Regions from separate parts of the Homo sapiens genome. Here region 2 is linked to region 1. Evidence: promoter capture Hi-C in human tissues and cell types (Jung and others, 2019). All regions are on one chromosome and are shown on one strand. The core of a region is centred on a gene start or on the middle of the fragment in contact, and the rest is flanking DNA. Distances in the headings are between cores, read along the strand shown. Region 1 holds the start of EDNRA (endothelin receptor type A). Region 2 overlaps LOC105377476 (a long non-coding RNA gene).

Region 1 (6,875 bases), core at 1,375-3,874:
GAGGGCAGATCAACAGGTAACGTATAGAGGCAGATTTCATTTTGATGTCAGGAAGAATTGATTACGGTAAAAGATACATAACATAAATTTACCATTTTAACCATTTCAAAGTGTACAGTTCATTGGCATTAAGTACATTCACATTGTTGTGCAACCCTCATCACCATCCGTCACTGGAACTTTTTCATCATCCCAAACTAAATCTCTGAAACGTATGAAACAGTAAGTCCCCATTCTCCCCTCGGCACCTCCAAGCCCCTGGTAATCACTATTCTACCTTCGGTGTCTATGAATTTAACTATTCTAGGTACCTCATCTAAGTGGGATAATAAAATATCTATCTTTCCTTTTATGTCTGGCTTATTTCACTTAACATAATATCTTAAACGTTCATCCATGTGGTAGCATATATCATTCTTTTTTAAAGCTGAATAATGTTCTGTGTTATGTACATGTATTTATATACATATACATACATGTATATACCACATTTTGTTTATCCATTCTTCCACTGATGGATATTTGGATTGTTTCCATCTTTTGGCTAGTTTTCACCTTTTGGCTTTTCTGAATAATGCTGCTATGAATATGGGTGTACAAATATCTGTTTGAGACTCTGCTTTCAATTATTTAGGTAAGTACCAAAAAGTAGAATTGCTGGATCATAGGGTAATTTTATGTTTAATTTTTGGAGGGCTGCCATGCTGTTTTCCACAACTGCTACACTATATTTTACATTCAGACTGGCAATGCACAAGGGTTCCAATTTCTCAACATTCTTGCCAACACTTGTTCTTTGCTGTTTTTGCTTTTGTTTTACTATAATGGCTATCCTAATAGGTGTGAAGGAAGAATTTTTAGTAACTAGTCCTACACCACAGTGAGATCAGCTGTCTCAATAGGTGGGTCATGATGAATGTGTTCTAGCAAAGACTGGACAGATTGACATATTCAGATATGCAGGTGATGCACTGTCCAAGTGTGTCTGGCCACAGAGTGAATAAGGGCTGAAATCCAGCACATGTTTCACGGGCCAAGATGTGAACTGCCTCTTTTGGGAGGAAGCAGTAAGTTTTTCTTTCCCGAAAATATTGTCAGCTTGCCAAGCCACATGCCCAAAGGGTCACCTTTTTTTAATATAAACAATGGCACTTATAAAAGCTATTAGTTATTCTGGTTGGCTGATTCTCCCTCCTAGAGAAGCTGTAAGATTAGTGAACAGGGTAATATCTAGTCTAACCCTACTAGATGACTATTAAGGCCTCTTTCAATGGTGGTTTTCTGTAGATCTCTTTGATGGTTTTACAAAATGGTCCCTAAATTCTTTGACACTCCTCACACTAAGGGTTGGGCTCTATATACCCTCACCTTCAATCTGGGATTTGTGACTGCTTGACTAATAGAATCAAGCAGAAATGACACGGTGCCAGTTTCTGGGCCCAGCCCTTAAGAAACTGGCAGCTTCCACTTTCTGTCTCTGGGGACATTCACTCTTGGATCCCCGCCACCATGCTGTGAGGAAGCCCAAACCACAAGTCTCCACAAGTCTTTGTGGAGAGACGCACGTGGAGAAAAACTAACACTCAACACCAAGCAAGTGAACTGTCTTGGAAGTGGATCCTCCAGCCCCTGCTACATGGAGCAAAAACGAGCTGTCCCAGACAGGCTCTGCCCAAACTGCAGACTGATAAGCAGAGTAAATGAGTGTTGTTATTTTAAGCCACTACGTTTTATAGTAATTTGTTTAGCTGCAGCAGATAGCCGGAACAGCATGGGATATAACATGACCAGTGCTCCAACCTCACACTTCTACCATGTGCTGACTCTAGCAGTGCACTGAAGGACTCCAAGGCAGGCCTTCCCTGAGGAGACCCCAGTTTTTACTCACATGTCACAGGCAGTGGCCTTTGTCCCTCATCTCCTCTCCCACCCCCAATTTAGGATAAAGTATCTGCCGTGATAAAGACGTTGAGACCCACTTTCTGTAAGGTCGGCTTCTTCATTGTTTGAATTTCTTGAGGTTTCACGGAGCCACGCGCTGGAACCTTCCATAGTCTCTCCTGAGGCTCCTTCTTTGCCCTGGGCTGGAGGTCTGTAGCCGTGGGATGCTGGCTACAAGGGACAAGATAGAAGCAAACCACCTGATCCAGTAAACTGCTGTCCACTTCGGCTCCTCAACGGCCTCTAAGCTTAAGAGGGAGCACGCAAGCCAAGCAAAGGCGGCAGGGAAGACGGAGAAGAAACCACCCGTGGGCCCTGGCTCTGTGTCCAGTTGTTCCGTCACAGATCAAATCTGCCTGCACTAAGAGGATGGGTTCCTCTGCAAGGCCTTTCGGAATTCTGAGTCTTGTCTGTCAAACTCTACCCTCTCTCCTCCACATCCCCCACCTTTTCTTTCAGGAAGGAAATAGTTAAAAAAGACTCCTGCCCTTCAGGGCCTGGAAGGGGGCGGCAGCTTTGTGCTTTTTAGTGGCCGCGTCCCAGGATAGCTGGAAGGTTAGGACGCTCTTGCGGTCCCAGAGTGGAGTGGAAGGTCTGGAGCTTTGGGAGGAGACGGGGAGGACAGACTGGAGGCGTGTTCCTCCGGAGTTTTCTTTTTCGTGCGAGCCCTCGCGCGCGCGTACAGTCATCCCGCTGGTCTGACGATTGTGGAGAGGCGGTGGAGAGGCTTCATCCATCCCACCCGGTCGTCGCCGGGGATTGGGGTCCCAGCGAGACCTCCCCGGGAGAAGCAGTGCCCAGGAGGTTTTCTGAAGCCGGGGAAGCTGTGCAGCCGAAGCCGCCGCCGCGCCGGAGCCCGGGACACCGGCCACCCTCCGCGCCACCCACCCTCGCCGGCTCCGGCTTCCTCTGGCCCAGGCGCCGCGCGGACCCGGCAGCTGTCTGCGCACGCCGAGCTCCACGGTCGGTGCAAGTCTTTCTTATCGGGGACTGGGACTGGGGCGGGTGCGGGGATGGCGGAGACGCTGCCTGGGCCCCTCGGTCGGGAGAAGACGAGAGCTGGGAACGTTCTGGCCCGACCGCCCTGCAGCTTGGGCGACCCGTCGCAGCAGGGGCTGGCACCCACTTGCCCCAGGGCGCGCGGGGAGGCGGGCGCCTTCCGTGAGGGGTGCGCTGCGGACACGTGTAGAGTTCGGGGAACTTCACCTCTCCACGTTAGGGTTTAGGATTCGGAGTTTTAGGAAGAGGAAGCCCAATAGTTTTCCCTGGGTGACCCCTTTTCCCCAGGCATGCAAGAACTTTGAGGAACGCCAAGCTCTGTGGCTTGCTCCAGCGCCTTCTTGTGAAGTTGGCTCCACAGCCTTTTCTTACTGGCTTGCTTTTCCTCCCCCACATCTGGGTCTGGGTATGCCAAGGGTAGCCAAGGGCACTCGGTGTGAGGGACTGAGGTGTTTGGGGAAACCCCCTGTGTAGCTAGTTTTGGAAACCTGCCTGTGGAGGTCTGGGCGTTTTGTTCTGTGCTCGCCTTTAAAGGACACTTGTTGCTTCTCACGTGCAGAAAACAAGGGCTGCTTCTAGATAATCACCCTCTGTTTACATCATCCTAATGGCTTTCCCCTGATAGAGTTGGGGGTGGGAGGCATATTAAACTCAGGCGTTGTCTCTAAGGAGAGTTGCTCATTTCTTAACCAGAGAGCAAAACCTCAGAAAACTTGTAAAAAGTTCCTACTTTTACTTGTTTTTTCCTCCACCTGTAGTTGTCTATGTGTTAGCTAATTGAGAAACACCTTGGCAGTCATTTCATGTAAATTGAATGCTCTAAACTCATGCCATTTTGATAAGGTCTGAATTTCCAAATTACCAATTACAGGTGAACTTTGATCCTGAGAGTCTCATATGTTAAATGGTTAAAGTGTAAGCGTAAGGATTCAGTCCTCTTTCTTAATAATAGTTTTTGCACTCCCCAAACTCTCAGATTCCAAACAGGAAGAATGCTGAATCTATAGACCATGTCCTTCAGGTCTGAACCTGAGATGCTTCACTAGCGCTATGACTGATTATGAGTGATGATTCAAAGCACAGCCTGACTCAGATTCCTGGAAATGAGCTACAGACCCACCTTGGAAGAACCTGCAGTTGAGGGGCTTCTTTCATTTGGTTTTGTACTTTTCAGCCAATGATAATATGACATCCACAGGCCTTTGCCAAGTATCCCTTAGTTTTGCAGCTTAACATGTGTGGAGAGCTGATAGAGAAGTCATCAGAAATGATTTCTGTAGTGGTGTCATTGTTGGAGGAGGAAGGAAGGGGGTTTTAATGATAGCTGGCTCTCATGCCTTAAGAACCCACAGCGTTGGCCTTACCTCCTGGCATAATCAGCTAACCAAGCAGACCAGCATGCTAACGTTCAAAGCACCACAGGACCTCTGATGAGTAGAGCAGTACCCACCGTAGCCAGGTCAGTTCACAGGTCAGTTCCCAGCCGACTGTAACCGGCAGAGAGCCATTCCATTTCTGCAAAGGCCTTCTCTCTCTCATTTTTAAGAAAGCTGTTATTGAAGGTTCCCTTTCATTTGGGAAGCTGGAAGACGTTAGTCACGAAACAGCACAAGATATGAAAGTATTTCTTCTCCCCCCTGTATCTGTGATCCAAAAAGGAGGATGACAAGAAGCTTTTCTCTTGGAGTCCTGGTGTTCCCTTTGGAATGGAAATGGTGTCATTTCATAGGTCTATCAATTTTTGGCCAGATACTCACTCCAGATTATAAGAAGCAGGAAAAAACTGCAAACTGTTTATAATTAAGTCTAGTCAGAGCTGACAAATACATGGCCTGCCTCTAGCCTTGAAAAATTGATATTTTTCCCATTTAATCAGAGTGAGTCAAGTCCTATAAGCAAAATTATGTGTCCTGCCATTTCTTGGCTTTGAAACCTTGACCTAAATACTTCTTCAAGACTCTGGTTTCCTTATAAGTAAAATGGAGATATTGCTCCTGCCTACCTAGAGTCGTAAAGCTCAAGGCAGATAACAGATACATATATAATAAGTTACTATATGTAAATACTATTATTATTTCAGAGTTCAGGGGGAAATCTCTGGGGAAGGCAAAAGTATCCAATACTCGCACTTTATATATACCCTATACTTTCTATGCAACTTGAATAAATCTTATTTTATCCACGTATTGGCCAAACCTAAGCTTTACTGATTTCCCAAGATAATTGTCAAAATTCCTAAAAGTGGTTAACATCAACCTTGAATACACTCAGAAAAAGGATTCAATTTTATTTTTTACTTTTTATTTATTTAATTTTTTTTTTTTTGAGACAGGGTCTCACTCTGCTGCTCAGGATGGAGTGCAGTGACTCGATCATAGCTCCCTGCAGCCTTAACCTCCTGGACTCAAGTGATTCTCCCATCTCAGCCTCCCAAGTAGCTGAGACTACAGGCACACGCCACCATGCCTGTCTAATCTTTTTTATGTTTTGTAAAGACAGGGTCTCACTAAGTTGCCCAGGCTAGTTTCAAACTCCTGGGCTCAAGTGATCCTCCTGCTTTGGCCTCCCAAAGTGCTGAGATTATAGACATGAGCCACCACACCCAACCAGGACTCAATTTTTTTAAGATTAAATTATGACCTGGGTATATACATCACAGACACGTACACACACCACCGCATAAATCAGATTATGTCTTCATTTGAAGATTCATAAAAGCCTACAGAAAAGGAAATATATAAAATATTGAAATAGGATGAGCTATTTTTAATTATCTTTGATTATTCCTTATTAAGGTCTCCTAGACTTCCTGGACAGGAAGGACCACTTGCTCTCTGCAAGTGACTTAAAAATAAATAAATAAATAAATAAACCACACCAGATGGTCTTTGAAAATGTCTAACCACCCTCCTGAGTCTATTGCTTCATCTAAACTCTGGAGACTTCTTTAAAATATTTTACATACAAATAAAGCACAAGAATGAGAGACAGGATGGTTTAGTGGTTAACAGCTCCGGCTCAGAGTTGGACTGACCTGCCTTAGAATCGCAGTGTTGCCACCCATCACCTGTGGCCTTGACAAGCTGCTTCACCCTCCTGGGCCTCTGTTTCCCTATCTTCAAAATTGAACCGTGGATCTACCCCACAGGACCATTGTATGGATTACAGGGCATCATGCACATATAGTACTGAGTACAGTGACTGGCATAAAATAAATGTAGCTATATAGGATGGTTAAAAGATAGCATGGGGACAGGTGTCCCTTGGAAACCAAAATACTATGACTAGCCTGGAAAAGTTCATTACTCCCATTTCATTCATCGGCAAATACCGTATTGTGATGATAATTTCTGAGAAATGAAAAAGCAAAAAAACTCCTGTAAAAAATTTAGATTTTACACATTAATCATCAAGGTTTTCAAAACAAATGTTTTTATCAATTATTTCATTCTTAATTGAAACTAAAATTGTTAGATGTGTTAATGGTGTTAACCAGAGTTCTCATTAACATTTCATAACACTTTAGATGGCTACCTGTGCTGCACTTCATCCCTATGTTCATTATTTATCATATGCAAGACAGCACACATTTTAGAAGATTCAATTTTTACATTCGATAATTTTATTTTATGCCTCAATACCCTGTACCCTTTACTCAGCATATAATGCCTTTTCTCTTTCATTAAAAAATATGTTTGTATCTCAACTCTTGAAGATTTTTGTAATTCAGGTTCTTATCAGCCTGAATGTAGAGAAAGAAGTAACTACTACTTAAAGGAAAAACTGACATAGCCTCATCCATATTATGATGTAGATATAAGTATAGCTATGTATAGAGATGAGTGAGAGAGACAAAGCTAGAGAGATAGGGAGATGGAGATAGAGCTAGAGATGGAAATAGAGACAGAGATAGATAGCTATAGAGACGGAAATGG
Region 2 (6,596 bases), core at 497-2,996, 390 kb before region 1:
TACCAGCTACTCGGGAGGCTGAGGCAGGAGAATGGCGTGAACCCAGGAGGCAGAGCTTGCAGTGAGCCGAGATCGCGCCACTGCACTCCAGCCTGGGCGACAGAGCGAGACTCCGTCTCAAAAAAAAAAAATTAGTTATATATGTTAGTATTTCTCTGTTAAAGCCATGCACGTATGCATCTGTTTTTAAAATATACACTTGTCTTTCAGACATTTGCAGTATTTCTCAACCTTTAAATAGCCTTCAGGAAAATGACTCTAACATAGATAATGTAAATTTGAACAATATAGACTCCCTTTTTCTCTGGAAGACACAAAGAATAAAATATTATCCATAAAAGTCTGGAAGTTTTAGTTTAAAAGAATAAATGCTAGAATCTTTAGAATATTTACCACCCACTTATTTGCTTCTAGGACATTTTGTAAATTGATGAGCCCAATTCTATGAAGTAGAAGAGAATAAAGCTGTCCACTTACATTCTTCCTACTAGTCAGCCATGAAATTTAAAATTTTATGATACTAGATTTATATGATATTTCTATGTATGGTTTTTGATATTACATCCTGAGTTTCTTTTGATTCAACATTTACTAGTTATTTAATTTCCTGTTCCCTGAAAAAAATGGAAATGGTGAAAAGTTTGAAATGACAGAAAAGAGAAGATTGAACTCCTTGAGAAATAAGTCCAAACTTTAGAGGCAAAATGACAAACATAAAACATAAAGAAGTCAGTATATCTGTCCTGGCAAAGAAAAGAAAAGTTCTCCATTTTTCTAGTAAGAAAAAAAAGTAATAATCTTAAATTTAGGAAGGGAAATTGAGGTTAGATTCCTAAACAATGGAATCATCTGGGTGGTGAGGGGCAGAATTTGTCCAGTCTATCAGGAAGTAAAGATTAGAGTAGACAATATCATCTTAGAGAGTGCAGGACACAAACATTGTAAATGTAGTCCAACCTGGAAGAAGCGTGGAATGCAGTTAATGATTTCTGGAGGACAGTTCCTTCCAGTCCTAAGAATCGGCAATTTGCCTACCATTTAGTAAATAGCCTTTACTTAGTGGAGGGTAGCCTAATGCTTTAAAAAAATAAAACATCTATCACAGCCCCTGCTCATTAGTACTATACAGACCTCAAGAATCTTTGGTGCTGTATTAATGCCAAGTACTCTCTCACTTAAGTGGTACAGCCTATATTCCATTAGAGACGGGTAAGAAGAGGCACCAGTTCTTTTTAGCAATCAGTTTTTTTTTTAAATTGCCCATCTTCATCTTAAACTTTTCGATAGCTTGTCAAAATAAGGGACAGTGGAAGCACACAACATAACAAAATATAAACACCAAACCTAGTCCTTGCGAGAAAACTCCCCAGCATTCCCTACCCTGTTCAATCACGCTGCTCATTAAACAAGTCATTTTAATACTCACTGTCAGCCCAATCTTCTAGGTGCCAGGATTTTCTTTTGAAGAGAGAAGGTACTCTGTGGGCCAGCCTTGCAGAAGGGTAAACATTTGGAAACCAGGACAGGGTTTTCTAGTATTTAAGATCTGGCATCTTCTAAATTTAGGGGTACTCCCTTTCCTGCTTTTTGGGCTTAAAATATTTTTAAATTTTACTTTATTTTAATTTTTTAGTTTGCACAGACACAATGTGCTGTGAAACACACCTCAAGTGTCTTTTAAAAATTAAAACAGGGTTGATTTGTAGTGTCAATGATTCCTGCTAATCAAAATCACTGACAATTTTTCAGGAGGGAAGAAGTATGGTTTAGCCCTCTCACTAGAGAGCATTGCTTCATTTTTCTGTTTTGATCTAAATCTGAATGTTTTCCTGCAGATAATTCTCTTGCATTTTTTAAAGGGGAGAAACAGGCAATAAAATTCTAAGAAAATAAATGTTTATTTGGACACACAAATTTCTATCCCTGACCCCAGGTGCATGAGCGGAGCTTCAGGTCCCTCTGCTGGTCCAGCTCAGTGGGAGCTGTCAAGGGCAGGTTCAGAGACTTCTACCTCTAAATGAAAACTTGTAAATAGAATGTTGTGTTTACTCTTCTCCTATGGCCAAGGACCATCACTGGAATGCAGGGAGTGGTAAGTGTGGACTCCAACTATGACAGGAAAATCAAGCAGCCGCCCAGACAGAATTTCTCTAAGTTGTGTATCTGACTCAGAAGTCAATGTACATTTCAATACATGCTCCATTTTCTAACCATGCTTTTTTGAAATTGTCTTTTAAAAATTAGAAGTGGTTTTTGTGAACTAGAAAATTTATAAGAAGCTCCTTGTCTTTAAAGTCAAGGATTTATTTAAAAAACTAGAGAAACAAGAAGAAAGAAGGCAAGAGAATGTGACAAAGCAGTAATTTTCCCAGACTCTTAACTTCTAGCAACAAAAATCTGTGTAAGTATAGTTTGGAGATCAGTAGACTTGACTCTTTTAAACCGGAGAGTCATGCTATGGTATTCTGGTACTCTTTTTCTATGAGAATAAAACTGGCTTTTAATGTTTAAACATTATGTGTAGCTTAACTGTAAACCCATTCAAGAAAGCACCATTCTCTTTAATTATCATTATGAGGGCCTTTATACACATTCATGAATTAACACCAGAAAAGGATAGTGCTATTTTGTAATACTAGTCTTCGTTATATTTTCATATCATTTTTAAATACAAAAATATAATATTAGAGAAAGAAAAAAAACTAATGAGGTCACTTAATTCAAATGAGCCAAGGCAAATAATATTTGAACAGTGATTAATTGGTCTAAAGCTATCACCTTAAACCAAAGAGTTAATAATGATCCAGAACAAATAATGACAGAAATATATATTTATTTAGATATATATATCTGTATATGTGTGTACATACGTGTATATGTGTGTATATACGTGTATATACACACATATACACGTATATATGTATATATACGTGTATATACACACATATACACGTATATACACACATATACACGTATATATATACGTGTATATATACACACATATACACGTATATATATACGTGTATATATACACACATATACACGTATATATATACGTGTATATATACACACATATACACGTATATATATACGTGTATATATACACACATATACACATATACACGTATATATACGTGTATATACACACATATACACGTATATATACGTGTATATACACACATATACACATATGTATATATACGTGTATATACACACATATACACATATGTATATATACGTGTATATACACACATACACATGTGTGTACATACACACAAGTGTATGTACACACATACACACGTGTACATACACACAAGTGTATGTACACACATACACACGTGTGTACATACACACAAGTGCATGCACACACATACACACGTGTGTACATACACACAAGTGCATGCACACACATACACACGTGTGTGTACATACACACAAGTGCATGCACACACATATACACATATATACATACATATACACATGTGTATATACACATGTGTATATACATACATATACACATGTGTATATACACATATGTGTATATAGATACATATACACATATGTGTATATACACATAAGTGCATATACATACATATACACTTATGTGTATATACACATAAGTGTATATATGCGTGTATATACGTATATAAACACATATGTGTATATATGTGTGTGTGTGTATATATATATAGACAGAGAGAGAAAGGGAGAGAGACAGACACAGAGAAAGAGAAAGTGACAGGGAGAAAAAGAGAAGAGGGAAAATGGGAAATGACAAAGAAAAATACTACTTCACATAGCTGATGGGACCCTCAAAATTATCCGAAATGATAATGACATTTTATGTTATACATCCTAGTATTTAACAGAATAACAATAGAGACACATCCTTCTGCAATGTCTGAAATTATTCCTGCAGAAATCCACCCCTCCCCAGTGCAAGGATCCCCATTCTGAGAAACACACAGGAATGGCAACCCATGTGCGAGCCATCTTTCTCATCACATCAATCCCAACTCACACGTGGGTCTGATCACCTTTCTTTCAGACACACAGGGTGAATGAATATTAATTACAATTGTTAAAGCCCTACTATCTTTACAATGAATTCAACTTTCTAGTAATTGAGATATTTGAGTATTTTTAATGAAGACCATTTTGCTAAAATAAAAAAAAAAGTGTGGCAATTTTAAATTAAGTTGACTTAAAATTCATATTATTTGAAGGATTCTGTTGCTAAAGGAATTAAGGACACGAAGACCACTTCCAAACTTGTTGATAATCAGAAGCAGATGGAGGTGCTATTAAAAACTCAGATACCCATGCCCACATCAGAGCTACTAAATCAGAATCTCTGAGGACGGGTTCCTGGAATTTTATTTATTTATTTAGCTTCCAGATTTGGAAATCACTGCTCCAGGATGTTGCAAAATCAAGAGAGATGTTAAATGATTTGAATGAAAACATATTTCAACATCTGGGCAGTTCTCTGTAGCCACAAAGACTAGAAGAGCCGAGGCCACACCATCTCCAAATGCACCAGGTACAAATGTCTGTTATCCAAAAATGCACAGAAATAGAATACTGTGTAGTACACTTTTTAGGTAAATGAATTGAAAAATCATAATTTAATATGCTGTACCTTGTTCCCATTGTACAGAGTGATGTATTTAAATTACTAGCTTTTGCATTTTTACTTTTTAAAATTGGTTGTTGGAAAATTAAATCTGTCTTGCTTATTGGGAGTCAAAGCTGCAACATAAAAGAACAATGTTGCCATCTAGTGGTCAATTGAAGACATTAATGAATCAGACCATTGCGAGAAGTTTCAAGTTGAAGGAAAAGACAGCTCAGGAAATAATGTAAATATATTTCATAAACCTAAGACCTGAAACTACAAATATTCTAGAAGGTAACATTGGAAAAACCCTTCTAGACATTGGCTTAGGCAAGGATTTCATGACCAAGAACCCAAAAGCAAATGCTATAAAAACAAAGATAAATAGCTCTAATTAAAGAGCTTTTGCACAGCAAAAGGAACAGTCAGCAGAGTAAACAGACGACCCACAGAGTGGGAGAAAATCTTCACAATCTATACATCTGACAAAGGACTAACATCCAGAATCTACAACGAACTCAAACAAATCACTAAGAAAAAAACAAACAATCTCATCAAAAAGTGAGCTAAGGACATGAATAGACAATTCTCAAAAGAAGATATACAAATGGCCAACAAACATGTGGGAAAATGCCAACATCACTAATGATCAGGGAAATGCAAATCAAAACCACAGTGTGATACCACCTCACTCTTGCAAGAATGGCCATAATCAAAGAATCAAGAAACAGTAGATGTCAGTGTGGATGCAGACATCAGGGAACACTTCTACACTGCTGGTGGGAATGTAAACTAGTACAGCCACTGTGGAAAACAGTGTGCAGATTCCTTAAAGAACGAAAAGTAGAACTGCCATTTGATCCAACAATCCCACTACTGGGTATCCACCCAGAGAAAAAGAAGTCATTATTTAAAAGGTACTTGCACACGCATGTTTATAGCAGCACAATTCACAACTGGAAAATTGTGGAAACAACCCAAATGTCCATCAATCAATGAGTGGATAAAGAAACTGTGATATATATATATATATATGATGGAATACTAAGCAGCCATAAAAAGGAATGAATTAACCGCATTTTCAGTGACCTGGATGAGATTGGAGACTATTATTCTAAGTGAAGTAACTCAGGAATGGAAAACCAAACATCTACGTTCTCACTGACATGTGGGAGCTAAGCTATGAAGCTGCAAAGGCATAAGAATGATACAGTGGACTTTGGGGACTTGGGGGGAAGAGTGGGAGGGGGGCGAGAGATAAAAGACTACAAATATGGTGCAGTGTATACTGCTCAGGTGATGGGTGCACCAAAATCTCACAAATCACCACTAAAGAACTTACTCATGTAACCAAATACCACCTGTACCCCAATAACTTATGGAAAAATAAAAAAATTCAATAAATAAATAATAAAATAATTGCTTATACCATTTCCTTGATGATGCTAGGAAATTTTACCAGTTTAACTCCATTTACCACCAACTCATCTTTTGTATTATTGTCATGCATTTTGAACTTCATAGATATTTTTATTCTCAAAATAAATTGTTTTTGCACAGTCATTAAAAAAATTTAGTAAAAAAAATTCTATTATTGAGGGGATTTCTCCCAACTACAGATGCTACTACCACCAGACCCCCTTAATCTTCATGCTAGTTTCTAGCTCTAAAATCAAAGTATTGGTCAGTTGACAACAAGGTTGTGTTTCATTTGACTCTAACAATAGTATGACAAATCCTCTCATGTTTGTGTATTTGTGAAGGTTCTAAGGTAGATGTTAATACCGGGAGTTTCTCAAATCATCAGTGATACCACCCTTTGAAGCTATGGCTGGGCTACTAGTTTCTTCCAATTACTCAAGCTGCCAAGGAAGCTGTGAGCCTTTGAAAGGGAGATTTCAGCCCCTTCCCCACTTCTGACATCTTAGGGGGTCACATTGCTGCTCCAAGTATTCTCTCTAGAAGCCATCCTAGACTG

What was found. Contacts are between HindIII fragments. The study calls those that stand out against the background at their distance.
Region 2: a contact is called between a fragment that was not itself captured here and the fragment with the promoter of EDNRA in region 1, in 1 of the 25 tissues and cell types used here (IMR-90 fibroblasts).

Annotation. Positions count from the first base shown.
Region 1 is chr4:147,478,473-147,485,347 of GRCh38, forward strand. It overlaps EDNRA (endothelin receptor type A), which reads left to right and starts at 2,625. Exons shown (of 8, transcript NM_001957.4): 1 at 2,625-2,904. RefSeq lists enhancers at 3,315-3,414, 3,445-3,524. The HindIII fragment of the contact is 3,954 bases long and covers 924-4,877 here.
Region 2 is chr4:147,092,429-147,099,024 of GRCh38, forward strand. LOC105377476 (a long non-coding RNA gene) reads left to right here. Exons shown (of 3, transcript XR_939316.3): 3 at 4,393-4,871. Among named protein-coding and RNA genes, the nearest start is that of TTC29, 150 kb to the left of the region's middle. The HindIII fragment of the contact is 7,270 bases long and covers 1-5,381 here.